Regions from separate parts of the Homo sapiens genome. Here region 2 is linked to region 1. The links are contacts of gene promoters, found by promoter capture Hi-C in blood cells and fetal thymus (Javierre and others, 2016). All regions are on one chromosome and are shown on one strand. The core of a region is centred on a gene start or on the middle of the fragment in contact, and the rest is flanking DNA. Distances in the headings are between cores, read along the strand shown.

The links. Contacts are between HindIII fragments. The CHiCAGO score rates a contact against its expected background, and 5 or more counts as called.
Region 2: a fragment that was not itself captured here is called in contact with the fragment with the promoter of FBN1 in region 1 in 3 of 17 cell types (erythroblasts, megakaryocytes and endothelial precursors); the score reaches 8.9 in erythroblasts.

What each region holds. Positions count from the first base shown.
Region 1 is chr15:48,641,726-48,648,814 of GRCh38, forward strand. It overlaps FBN1 (fibrillin 1), which reads right to left and starts at 3,984. Exons shown (of 66, transcript NM_000138.5): 1 at 3,850-3,984; 2 at 2,881-3,225. The coding sequence starts at 3,044. It overlaps FBN1-DT (FBN1 divergent transcript), which reads left to right and starts at 4,080. Exons shown (of 2, transcript NR_183872.1): 1 at 4,080-5,105. RefSeq lists silencers at 2,959-3,008, 3,109-3,238, 3,649-3,828, 3,869-3,948 and enhancers at 4,022-4,546, 4,059-4,148. The HindIII fragment of the contact is 7,208 bases long and covers 1,226-7,089 here.
Region 2 is chr15:48,333,362-48,340,450 of GRCh38, forward strand. It overlaps DUT (deoxyuridine triphosphatase), which reads left to right. Exons shown (of 7, transcript NM_001025248.2): 3 at 1,056-1,147; 4 at 2,685-2,729. Among named protein-coding and RNA genes, the nearest start is that of DUT-AS1, 5.0 kb to the left of the region's middle. RefSeq lists a silencer at 3,656-3,725. The HindIII fragment of the contact is 2,422 bases long and covers 421-2,842 here.

The DNA.
Region 1 (7,089 bases), core at 2,734-5,233:
ATTTTAACAGACAAAAACAGAAATTTTAAGCAATAACTGGAAAAATGTAGTACATAACTGCTTTTTCTGATGATTTATACAGCAGGGCACCGTTAAAGGATTTATTCATATGAGACTGTAACGGCAATAAGCAGAGGGAATAAATTTAAAATGTTATTCAAATTTAACATAAGAATTGGGGTTTGCTTAAAATCTATGGGAAAGACTTTGATCCAGCAATTCTATTTTTACTAATTTATACCACATATAAACACGTGTATGTAAACACAGGTATGCAGAAGAAAGTTGGTAATAGCAAAAGACTCAATGTAATCTAAAGAGCCATCACTAGGGAACTGTTCCAGTGACATAATGAGGTTCTATACAACAAGAAAATGGGGTAGGGCGCAGTGGCTCAAGCCTGTAATTTGGAGAGGCAGAGGTGGGTGGATCGCTTGAGGCCAAGAGTTTGAGACCATCCTGGCCAACATGGCGAAACCCCATCTCTACTAAAAATACAAAAAATTAGCCGGGCTTGGTGGCACCCACCTGTAATCCCAGCTACTCTGGAGGCTGAGGCAGGAGAATCGCTTGAGCCGGGAAGGTGGAGGCAGTAAGCCAAGATTGCACCACTACACTCCAGCCTGGGCAACAGAGCAAGACTGTGTCTCAAAAAAAAAGAAAGAAAATGAATGAGGTAGATCCATATGAGTTAATAGATGGATGCATTAAAGATACATAAAAAGTAAGTAAAGTTCAGAATATTGCATGTACAATACATTCCATGTATTAAAAAGGATACACACACACATGTGTATGTATACATATATATTTGTGTTTATTTGTACATGTATACATATGCCTAAAAGATTTATAGAAAAATACACAAGAAAATGGTCTCTGAAAGGTGGCAGGGAAATACTTTTAATTGTATATATTTTTAAATTATTATTTTCACCCCCGTGTATGTGTGTGTGTGTGTGTGTGTGTATATATATATATCACTTATTATAAAATCTTATAATTAACATGAGAATTAGGAACACACATAATTACAATTCTATTAATACCCTGTTTTTAGGAAGGCTTTATAAATAGTTTACAATAGGATAAGGTCTGTGTTAATGATCAAATACTGTGAGGAGCACAGAGAGGTATCTCTCTATAATCACAAACAAATTTAAAACCAGAGAGAAAAAGCACAAGTGTGAGTAAAAGTGTGGCATCCTGTTAAGCAACAAAGTAAAGCTTAGTTTCTTTTTTCACATTCCCAAGGGAACACACTAGTTGGTGACAGCCCAGAGAAATGAGACAAATGTCTGACCAGGCCTCACACCTCTCTGCAGATCTTCAGCCACAGAATTAAATCCCCACGTCCTTTATATACAGGAGCAATCCTATCAGAATAGATATTAAGATATTATTATGTAGGAGAAATGTATTTTTGAAGGAAAAATACTGGACTAAATGAGGTCCTCTTGAGAACATATGAAAATCAGAGCCTCAGTCTACTTATTGAACTTGCCATGTGCCTTGCACACAGGGCAATAAACATCTGCTGTCTGATCAAGGTCAGGTTTACCATGATAAGCAAACTTCCTTCCAACATTATCGGAATTCTGGGTTTATTTTCCACGAAGGCCAAGATGGAACCGAATTAATCATAACTATTTTCTGTGCTATTTTATCACAGCCTAAGTGCTTGGCTCATACAATCATCTTGTCCTTACTCCAGACTAGGAGTCAAAAACTGGTCTGGTGAGTTTACTTTTTCTTCTCATATCTGGGCCATACAAACACAAATTTTACTACATATACATGACTATAACACCTCATAACAAAAAAAGAGTAAGTGAAATGAACAGCCACATATCCAAGTGGATACCATCACTTGGTGACCCAGAGCTATATAATAAAGCTACAGAACCACTCAGGAAAAGAGCATCAGCGAGAATGGTAAGAATTTAATACAAAATCTCCCTATATATACTGTCTGAATTTATTTAACAGGCTCCTCCAAGAAGATAAAAGGGGTCACTGACAGTCCATCCTGTTGTTTCCATGGAGGCTTTAACTTAAACAACTGCAGACAAATTTCTCTTAAAGGAAATGTATTCCCACTGTCCTTCAATACAGGAAAATGACAACCCTTAGTCAAGTCTAATTAAAATTTTTCCGGCTGAAACATCTGTAACAGCGGCATGGGAAGCCAGTGAAATGGTCAGTTGCATGTACACAACACAAACACCACTAGTTAAAAATACTCCCTTAAGGCCGGCCACAGCAGCCTTACTGCTGCAGTGAAACGGAGAGCCCCACACAACTCAAAAAACCAGTTCTCAGAACCACTTGCCCTGTTCTGCTTCCAATGTAGACATCTAAAGGAAGCATTGCCCAGAAAACCCAATCCGTAATTTTAATAAGCATAATTTACGGAAGAGTCAACTACTGTGTGATTTCTCCTCTGACTGTCATGGGAATCCCTTCCTTTCCTTGCCCCCTTTCAAATACAGCATCTACCAAGATGACCCCAAGGAAAGTACTTTCCTCTAGAAACAACCAGAATTGATATTGCAGGGAAAGGAACGGGCTTCTCCTCTTATCCCACTCGCAACTCCTCCCCTTCTTCCCCAAGGAACTCTTCTCGCCTCCCAAAATCTGCCTCAACAATGGCCCAAGATTCCATTTAACCACGTCCTCTCCTTTGGGGCAGAAATCTCTGGGAGTAGGGGCAAGGTAGTTTAACCACGAACGGGGTGGGGACTAAACAACCCTAGCACCTCTAAGGTGCCCCCAGGAGGTCTTGCCAAGGAGTCTTCCACAGGGAGAGTCATCCTGCCCGTTGTTCTGGATCTTGAAACTTGGGAGACCCACACCAAAGGAGGGAACCGGTTCCTTTACCCTTTAAGCGCGTCGTGTCCTCCACCGCCTCTTCTCTTGGCCCGACTGGCTCTGGTTTCCTTCACGTTCCCAGCCTCCAAATTGGCGTCCGCCCCATGGCTCGTGTAGGACGCTAAAAGCACGGTAAATCCCAGGGCGATCTCCAGCAGACGCCCTCGACGCATGATGCCGAGCCGCCACCGGCTCCCGCCGCCTCTTGCCGCGCCCGGGGCTCGGTCTGCGGCCGCCGCTGCGCCCTGAAGCGCACCGCGCCGCCGGGGTCCCGCTATCCCGCCGCCCGTCCCCCGGGCCGGGCTCCTCCCGCCTTCTCCAGGCGCTGCTCCCACTTCAGGCGGCCCCTGCCAGCTGCAACACAGAGACAAATCCCCGAGGCGGGGAGACTTTCAGGGCATCGGGATGCTGAAGCCTCGCGGTCCCCATTCCCAAGCCCAACCCGTGCGCCGCCTGCGCGTGGCGCAGTTAATTTGGGTAAGGGAAGACCGTTTGGTCCACAGCTGGCTGGAAAGCCCAGGCCCCCGGCGGCAGCAGCCCCGGCCGATCCCTCGGCCTCCCGGGCCCCGCCAGAAGAGCGCGGCGCAAAGTACCCATATCCCCAGCGGTCCTAAGCCCCGGGCGAGCTCTCTGGGTTTATTTTTTTTAGCGGCACGAATTGCGCGCGATGCGCGCTCTGAACGCCCCACTCCTCAGCCTGCCCTCTCCGCCAGGCTGGAAGCCAGCCGCGCCGTCCCCGCCGACTCCGGGCGATGCCACCGCCCCCCGAACATCTGACGCGGAGCCCGGCACCAAGAGCCCCGGGCCAGGAAGCTGTCAGGCAGGGGAGGGCCAGCGCCAGCTGTGGACGTTCCGGGACAGCCCCTCACCCCAGTCCCTGTCCCTGCCCTCGGCGCGGCGCAAACGCAAAAGCCTCCGTGGCCGCAGCTCCAGCCCCGGTGGCCGCCCGACCCCCGTCGGGACCCCGGCTGCACCCACTGGAGAAGCGGCGGCTCCGACTCCCGAGGAGGCGGCGGCGGCTGCTCCCAGTCGTGGCCGCTACAGCCACTGCTCGGCTCCGCTCGCAGCTGTCCCAGCTGTGGCTCCTGTCCGCTTGTGGCACCCACAGTCTCTGCCGCGGCTCCCGCAGCCCCCTCCTTTCCCCACCTCTTCAAGTATCGTCCGCGCAGCGGTTTCTCGCGAGAGAAATACTTTTTTTAAAAAAAGAAAGAAAAAGAAAATGACACCCCCTCCTTCGTCGCCCTCATCACCACCCCACCCCCCGGCCCCATCCATCCTCCCTTTCCACTCCCCTTTGCCAGCCTCCGCCTCGGTGCGGGGCCTCTCGCTCGCAGGATTAGCGCAGTGGGAGGAGGCAGAGGTGATCAGGTCCTGCCCGGCCTGGGACTTTTTGTCTTGAGGTGGGGAGGGGAGAAATGGGAAGAGGTGGAGTAGCGGTTTTAGCCCGCTCTGCGGCTGCGAGGTTTAGATCCGAGATTAACCTCTCCCGCGATAGGTGAAGCCCTACCGGAGCAGAAAGCTGTTCCACCTGCACCAAGAATGCGCGCTGGAGACGGTTGCCCCGGAGGCCCTGGCCCGAGAGAAAACCAGTCCCCGCTGCCCGCGCCTCCCGGTAGCGCGCTCCCTGCGCCTCTCCCGCCGGACACTCAGCAGACGCCGGAGGCCGGGAGGCTAAGACTGGGCGCGTCGCAGGCCGGGACCGCGGCAGAGGCTGCTGTGCCGACCGAGGAGAGGGCTCTGCCGCCCCCACTTGCCCTGGGTGTCGAGAGCCCACTCCAGACGCGGCTCTTCTGAGGCTCAATTCAAGCCACCCAGGCCTGAATCCAGGGTGCTCTCTCTAAGTCGGTGTCCAACCCAGGGGCCTGTAAATGTTGGAACCTAGGATGTAGGATGGGAGCGGTGAAGGGATGGTCCTCTTGCCCAGCCCAGATTAAGACTGGGGTTCATCTGGAGGACTCTACTTACACCCTCCCGGTCCCCTCGCCCTCCCCCACACACAGCTGCCTCTCCCCAGGATATGCGCGGCACAGTGAATTTAGTGGCTTTGAAAGGTATAGTATTTGTGGCATCCTTATATGGATAATGCCCAATGATGCCTGCACCCTGTAACAGTTTAGGAAGGCCTGAAGTCGCACACTGGGTCCTGGCTGCTGTAACTGGAGACCCCCAGAAGATCCCCTGCAAGCAGCCACCAGCCTGCTGTCAAGCCAATAATAAAAGCTCAGCACAAACAGGTACCCTGGGAATGTATCTTGTTGAAAGGGATTTTCCTTATTTGTAACCGTTTGTAAAGGGGCCCAGACAGTAGGGTAGAGAGACCTGGGCAAGTTATTCAACTTCTTTCCAAATACAAGATGGGACTTGTAGTGTCCACCACACAGGGTTGTAATGGTGATGATGGACATGCTGAACTGCTGTGATACATGAAGATGAAACAGAAAAACTGTGGGAACTATGAGCTGATCTAAAGCCATAGTCCTGTAAGTATGTATGTGGTGTACTTTAAGGTCTCACCTGCAAAAGGTCTCTTAGCAGATTCATGAATGAGAGCCTTGGTCACACACTCCTGGCTGAGTAAAGGAGATCATTCATTCAAGATGTTTTTACTGAGCACGAACTGTGTACTACTTAGTGCATTGTTGAACTAGACTTCAACAATTTTAACAAGGCAGGTTCAACAATTTGAACACGACTGACTTCAACAATTTAGTGAAAAGGGCAGAAATGTGTCTCCCCTCACACAGCAGGTAGTCAACAAGGAAAGGCAGACTTGAAACAAATAATGGACCAATTGTTAAGCGCCAAACAGGATAAGTACTGGGTGCTTGCTTGGAGGATATATAACAAGGGGACTTGACCTAGGCTAGGGCTGATCAGGAAAGGGATCCCTGAGGAAGTGATATTTAACTTAAGTCTAAAACATAACTAGACTCTACTTAGGATAGCAGTTCTCAACCCTGGCTATGCAGTAAAATAATAAGAGGCTTTAAAAAAATTCTGACACCAGGATGGGCATGGTGGCTCATGCCTGGGCCTGTAATCCCAGCACTTTGGGAGACCAAGGCGGGTGGATCACTTTAGACCAGTAGTTCAATAGCAGCCCGACCAACATTGTGAAACCCTGTCTCTACTAAAAATACAAAAATTAGCCAGGTGTGGTGGTGCATGCCTGTAAATCTTGCTACTCAGGAGGCTGAGGCACTAGAATCGCTTGAACCTGAGAGGTAGAGATTGCAGTGAGAGGAGATTGTGCCACTGCACTACAGCCTGGGCAGAACAGAGTGAAACTCTGCCTCAAAAAAAAAAAAAAAAAAAAAAAATCTGACACTGACACCAGGCCCCAACACCCAGAGTTTCTGATTTGAGTAGTCTGTAGTGGATTCTTCACATGGATATTTTTTAAAGCTCCCTGGGTAGGGAGGGGTAAGGAGGTAATTCACACTGGGAAAAGGATCTGAGCAGAGGGACCATGGATTAGGAGAAAGCAGGGCTGTTGGACATCCAGAAAGGCCTTGTCCTGCCCACCAGTTTTCTGGGCTGCTCTGCACCCACAGGGGACTCTGGAAACTGCATGCTTTCCTTGTACTCCAGCAGCATGCAAGACATGCTGTGCCCTTTCTCTCAGAATCTTACACTCAGTGACATGTTGGTCAGCAGCAACCAAACACAAGCCTTTTCTAAGGCTTCTGCCCAGGAAGTAAAGGCCAAATCCTGGTGCCCTGCAAGTCCCCTCTTCCAACATTTCTGGACATTTCTATTATTTCTAACTCAAACTGCCTTCCAGGGTTTCACCTCCAAGGGAGGGATTTGGATTAAACGTTTTTACCTGGCCTTTGCTTTCCCCGGCAACCTCCTCTTTATTCATTGGCCTCTTTCTCCAATAAAGGAAAGATTCTTCCTTCATATTGGGTGGCAGCTCCAAGCCATATACTCCCCTCTTTGAGCAATAAGTCTCATGTTCTGACCACAATGGTGGAAGATTACAGGGGAAGGGGAAGCAGGGGGAACTTGATTACTTAAAAGTAAATACATTTTAAATATACAAGAACTATTCCCGCTATCTAGGCAATCAACATGTATTAGAGTAGCATGCTACTTATGACAAAATTCAGTAACGAATAATAAAAATCTGTGTCTTTGCAATAAGATTTTCTTGATGCCAGATGATTGAGGACCCAACTCTCCTTAAACCTATCACAGACTTTTTTTTTTTTTTTC
Region 2 (7,089 bases), core at 382-2,881, 310 kb before region 1:
AGTTTGACTAGACCTTTCCAAAGTATATTTTGGAGCACTTTCTTGAGTCCTAGGGGAGTCCTTGATTTAAGATACCTTAAGTAGACTCCTAATAAACACAGGTGACTTTCTGTATACTGAAATTGACATGGAAATAATGGATCAGCAATAAATTAGGGCTTAACTGTTTAAAGAGGGATTTCAGTGAAAGAAGGGGTAGTACTGCTTTACCAGAGTTAATTAAGGTCTCCAAAGTAAACTTCCGGTTCTGCTCATTGTAAAATCTCTTAAATTTCTACCCAGGAGAGGGCCACAGTAATATCAAGAGTAGCAGCATTTGCTATGTGGACTTTAGAGGAATTCTGTTCCTAAGCAAGGTCCATCTCCAGGGGCCGTTCACGGTGATCAGCTGTCTCCCTCAGCCAGGAAATTCATAGCCTAAGCTTGGTAAACTACCAAGCCCTGCCTGACAGATACAACACAGTTCTTTATCTCTTATTTTGTCCACCCGTTTTTCTCCTTTCCTTCTGCATATTTTCCCTAATCACACAGATCATTGTGAGAATAAAATGGGTTAATATATGTAAACCAATTAGAACTGTTCCTGGCACACAGTAAAGGCTTAATCAATGATAGCTAGTATTATTAGTAGTATTTGGCCTTTTTTCTTTGTTCTTTCTTCATTTTTTTCCTTTTCAAACTATGGTTGTAAAGCATCCACCTTTTGAAAGTTTGCCTTTCTGCCCTTTCACGCTGATAAGTACCTCAGTTTCCAATAAACTTTTGTTCAGGGGCAAACATTTACAATGTTGACATCTCTTCACACCACCAAAAATATTCATGGAGAATTATTTTATCTAAAGCTGTCTTTTTAATAATAAAATAGCCACCTCTACCTTCTTCATAAACTTTTAAGATGAATTGGTAATTCATCATAGCAAGGTTGATTTTAGAAACTAAAGTTGCATTAATTCATTAAATACACTGAAAGTAATTTTGTATGCTTGGTCACAAAGAAAATATAAAAACAATTTTATAAATAGATTTGCAGTTATTTTCTTTCAATATTTTCTTAGTGCCTATGATTACACAATACCACCTATGGAGAAAGCTGTTGTGAAAACGGACATTCAGATAGCGCTCCCTTCTGGGTGTTATGGAAGAGTGGGTAAGTCATTTAAGAAACAGGTAACTATTTGTCAAGTTCTCCTTTGTGATAGATTCTTCATGTTTCATTTGGGGTAATAAGCAGGCAATATTGCTTGGGCTGTGTCCTAAAAGAAGCACCATTTGTGATAGCAAATGCACTCTTTGAAAGGCTTTATTTACATCTCTGCTTTGCCTCTTTTTGACCCTTTTATTTTTCTCCTTCCTCACTGGAGCTTTTAGGCTCACACTGGCCTAGAAGGCTGTTCTCAGAACATGGCATTTTATATTATGAGAGTAAAACTTCTGACCTGTTGGTCCCAGAATGTGTAAGCCTACTTAACCTTTTCTTGTTTGGCCATGGGGTTAGGGTAAGGGATACTCTTCAGTGTTGTAGAGGCACTGGGAGGAGCTAGGACAAAATGGAGTACACGTCAACAGGTTTGATTTTTCTGGAGCGGATCAGTTGTTACCAGACAGTTCTTTGCAAGAGCGTAAGTTCTTTTTGACTAACTTCAGAGTAAACATAAAGGAGGCAATGGAGCTGTGACGCCCTCCTCCAGGGAAAGGAGCTAGACTGGCACTATATTATTAGCCATGAGTGAGGAAACTGCCAGTACTTCAGCCCTTAAAAGATAACAAGATGGGCTCTCATCTCATCTCTTGAGCATCATTGACTCCATTTTTTAGAATTTTTTCAGGGGAAGGGGCAGGAGATGGAGTGAAATAAAGGTTAGTACAGAAAGAGGCAGCATTATTGACAAAGTGCCTGATTTAAATTATTCTAAAATAAAATGCTGGAAGTTAGGATAATTAATTATAGGCCTGATGCTTGAGTCTGCAATAATAAGGTGTAACCTTAGCTTTTTATTTTTTTCATTTTTTAGGATTAAAAAGTATACTAGCATTGAATCATTGAGACTTAGTTTTTGGCATTTTTACTTAACTGATATTAGCCCATTTATCTTACTCTGGTTCATGTGTTTCCTACAGGCATGTCTTTTGGCATCTGAATCATGAATAGTGGGGTCCCAAGTTGTAGGCTATGGTCTGCTACTATTTGGTTAGGTTTGTTTCCCTCTCCCTTCCTCTTCCTTTCCCTTCCCATCTGCATTGTACATGTTGTGGTGTCCCATCTTAAAACCAAAGTCTTCTTCCTCAGTAGTGTGTTCCTGCTGGCCATACTTCTCTTTCTTCCCCTTTGAGGCTTAACTTCTTGAAAGAGCAGCCTACAGTTGTTCCCGCTTGCTCACCTTTCAGCTCATTCTAGCAGTCCTTCTCCCCTGTCTGCAGCACCACAAATTCTGACTGAAGTCACATGGGAGTGGTTTAAGTTAGTTTTGAATTAAAACCTTGTGGAATTTTTCTAAACTAGTCTTTCCAACTTTGGTAATGCAGTATGATGAATATATATTCTTTAATTCAAAACCATGTGCTAAAGTTAAGATGAAGATATAGATATTATAGGTGAAGAGAATGACATGCTTAAATTGCATCAGTTATCTCTGATATAGCCCTTCCCCCTTAAAATAACCAATGTCTCCTTTTTTGTTTTTTAGCTCCACGGTCAGGCTTGGCTGCAAAACACTTTATTGATGTAGGAGGTAATATATTTCCTTTTTTATTCTGTAAATGTTTGCAAGTATTTACTTTGTCTTTAAAAGGTAATATTCAAATGACAGATTTTATTTTTAAGAAAAGAAAATGATTAGAGGAAAGCTTGTTATAATAGGAGGAAAAGCTTTGTGGTTATTTTAAGTAATTATATTTTGTTTAACTACTAACTTAATTTTTAAAATAATGATTACCTAATTAATAATGACAGATTTAATGATATAATAATTAAGTAATTATTTAAGCAACAAAAGTTCTAGAAAACACAGGTCTATCTTGTAAGAATTTTCTTCATAAGAGAGCTATCTGTCTTTAGCAAAATTTAAGAAGAAAATCTTTCCCTGAAGTCAGGAGAGAAAACACTTTTCTCTAAATTTGTTAAGACAGTCCTCTGTGTTACCTGTTTCCCTTATAATAAAGCCTTTCTCATGTTTGTCTCAAAGTTAACCCTACCTCATGTGGTACCTTTCATGAAGAACCCTCAGTGTCCTCTGCTAACTACTCTTGATACAGAGCTACTCCTCTTATTGTAAGGAAATTTCTACTTTCCTGATGTGGTTTCCTTGTTTCAGGTCCGCTCCAACTGGGATTCAGACCCCACTTATGTGGTCCTTACATACTGACCCTTTATCCCATCAGTAGTGAATCTTTCACTTAACAAGATACCTTGGCCCCCACATAAGTAGGTGTGCTAGATCTCCTCCTCCACCCGTTTTTACAGAGCTGCTTTATGGAGGCTTGTTAACAGATCAGGAAAACTGGCTTAGAAATGAGCCCACATGGATATGTGGTAAAAACTGGAGTCTCTGTGTGATTCCAGCCTCCTTGTTCTTTCCACTGCAATTAATTGTGGAGATTACCCTGCTGCATCCCCCTCACCAACTAAACACGTCCAGAATTAGCTCACTTTTATGTGCCACTGCAAGGGCTAACTAAGCACTTAATGAAACCTGGCTATCCTAGACCTGCCCCTTAGTCTAACATTTGGTGGGTGTGGTGTCTCTCCATAGTGTCACCAGGTGGTGCTGTGGGACAAGACAGGACCCCAAAAGTACACCCTTTAGGGACTAAAGGGGAGCTGAGTTTTACATAGCAGGGTGGACATTGACAGCCCACTCTTGGGTTGAGGATTCCTTGGGCTCTGTAAGTTATGCCCGATGTTCAAAAATGCTTTTACAAGGTCAACTGTGGTCATTTTGGGACAGTAACTTAAGGATATAAATAATTGTATATATTTTCAATGAAGTTTCAAATGATTGTTCAAGGAACGGGAGCTTTGGAATAACAACTGGATGTAGGTCCCAGCTCTGTCATTAACTAGTTATTACTTAACCTTTCTGAGCCTGTTTCCTCATTTTACAATGGAAATTAGTGTGCCTGCCTCTAGAGGTAGGAGGATTAAATGATAATGTGTATGAAATACCTAATATAGTACTTGGCACATATTAGATTCTGTGAGATATAATTTCTGTCCTTAGGGACTTCACAGATTGTTTTTATGTGGAAACTTTTTCTTTTATTCGACTTTGTTACTAATTTTTGCTCTGTTTAAAACAACTTTCTGGAAAAAAATTCATGTAAAAGAATGGAAAGTTAGTTTGCCTAGTGGTTGGTATGGTGTTATTCATAAAATCACATTGTGGTGTGTTCTTGGATGCAGAGAATCTTAACAATCTCCCTTAGGCACAAGTTTATCATAGTTGGCAACAGTTTTTATTTCTGAAGAGAGATGTTGTTAGAAATCCCAGGCTCTAAATAAGGGTCAAAGGGAAAAGTTGAGCATTCAGGATTCTGTTCAGAATTCACATCTGGTAGGTGTGGATAGTTTTTCACTAAAAAAGGTTTCCAACAAATGACATGCCAAACTCTTGACACAGTAAAACTTTTGCCTGAAGTCAGTTAATCACTCTGCCAGTTCCAATGCATGATTTTTCCAGTGATAACTTCAAGTTACTTTCTGCTTTCTCTGAGGAGAAATATCCCTGATACTTATATCCTGTAGGCAGAGAAGGCTTTTCTTGGAGGTCGAATGGCAATTGGGTGGTAAATGAATTTGGAACTACTGAAATTTTTATACCGTCAACATTCATGCAAAAAAAAAAACTATTGAGGGCCTTTTTTTCTGCCATACATTTGAATTGACTTCAAACTTCTTAATTTCTTTTAGTCACTTAAAGGTTTTTCACATTTTCGTGGCCCAAGCATAAAGATCACCTATCTGCAGGATTCAAGACACCCAATCATTTGAGTAGTTCTGATAGGACTGCTTTACAGATACGTTAGCAGAGGCCTTTCAAAAAGGGAGTGTTTTTGTATGTTAGAAGATACTATAAAGCCAACAAGCAAATATTTGCAACTTATATGAAAAAGAACAAATGAGAAAAAAACATACACAAAATATAGACAAGGACATGCAAATGTCCAACAAATGGGAGGAAAAAAATCCAGCCTCACTAGTCATCAGGGAATGAAAAGTAAGGCAATGAGATAGCCATTTTGTACTCATCATATTGGCCAGAATGTAAGAGATTGTTGCCATCAAATATTGGCAAGGATTTTGGAAATGGGCATTCTCAAATATTGCTGATGGAAGTTTGAGTGGCTACACCTTTTTTGCAACCTATTTGATGAAAATAAAAAGCATTCATATACAAGGATATACTTAAAGGGCTGCTTCATTTATTATAGCAAAATGTAAAAGCAGCCTGTGTCTGATATTATGCAAGAGAATAGTTACATAGAAACAATGGTACAGGTTGGGCGTTGTGGCTCATGCCTGTAATCCCAGCACTTTGGGAGGCTGAGACAGGCAGATTGCTTGAGCCCAGGAGTTTGAGGCTTATTTGAGCAACATAGGGATACTTTCTCTCTACAAGAAATACAAAAATTAGCCAGGTGTGGTGGTGCCTTTGTACCTGGAGGCTGAGGTGGGAGAATCACTTGAGGTTGAGGCTATAGTGAGTTGTGATCATACCACTATACTCCTGCCTGGGCTATAAGAGTGAGACCCTGCCAAAAAAAGAAAGAGAAGGAGAGAGAGAACCCATATTTCCATATCTTGTATCTAAAAAGAATGGCTAACATTTACATATATTAATCTCAAAGGATAAAAAGAAAAAAATAAAGTAGTATGTAAGATATATTTCTGTAACATTAGCTATCTCAGGGAGGGTAAGAGAATATTATAAGCTTTTACTTTATATGTATTTGTATTGTTTTAGTTATTTAAAAATTTTTGAATAAAGTAGAAACAATAGTTCAGAAGTCAGTCCATGTCTTTCTCTAACTCATTCAAGATAGATGAATTATTAGCTTGTACCTCAAAATCTCCCAGCATGGAAGTTCTCTAGCCTACTGTGGCCATTTTTTCTAGCATGGAACAACATGCTATGTTGAGGGATTTCTTCATTAAATCTAATTTAAATTGTCCCTGCAGTCAAAATTTTTTCCATATAGATAATATGGAAAACAGCTGGTTTCATCTTTATATCAAATTTTTTCATAAATATTAAGGTGTAAATTAATGGTCAACTGACGGTGGAGAAATAAAGCAGGGTTTGGTATTGGAATTGGTCAAGTTCAATAATGGATTGTTTCCTTCAGGCCCGACAGGAGATGAACTGCCTTTGCTGCTTTTCTGCCCAGTTTTATACTCACTCTTCTCGTAAAAGTGTTGCATCAGGAACCTTTTAAGAAGTGCTTAAATTCAGATTCACTTGTCCCTAGTAATTCATTCATAAAGCACAGGGGTTCATTTAAACGTATGTTGTAATCCATTCGGAAAATCTAAAATGTTGTTTTTGCTGAATATTTTTCCCCGTGGTGGACCTAAGGGTTTGCTTTTTTCCCCCCATTATATGAGAAAATTGAAAGGATATGCTTAGGAATTACCCTTGTTCTTAAAAAATGGGGGGTGGGTATGCTTTGGGGTTTTTTTGTCTGTTTTCTCAGCTTTCAAATAATGAGGAGTATGGGCAAATAGCATTACTGCCCATTGAGCTGAACACAGGATTATTTTTATTTCCATATTTTTTCCTTCATCAGGGCTTTTGTTTGGGGTAGAGTATTAATAACAAGTAAGATGTGACATGGAGCTGTCTTCAGTTAGATTCACGTGAGTCTTATCCAGCCTTTCACAAACTGAGGAGAAAGAATTAACGTGTATAGCAGGAAATTGGGGGTGGGAGGAGGAAGGGGAGTGACTGCTAATAAGGTAGGGGATTTTTGGAGGGAGGGTAATGTAAATGTGCTATAATTGACTGTGACGATAGTTGGCCAACTCTGATACACTATGAACTGTGGAATTGTAACACTTCAAATGGATAAATTGTATGCTTTGTGAATTATTTA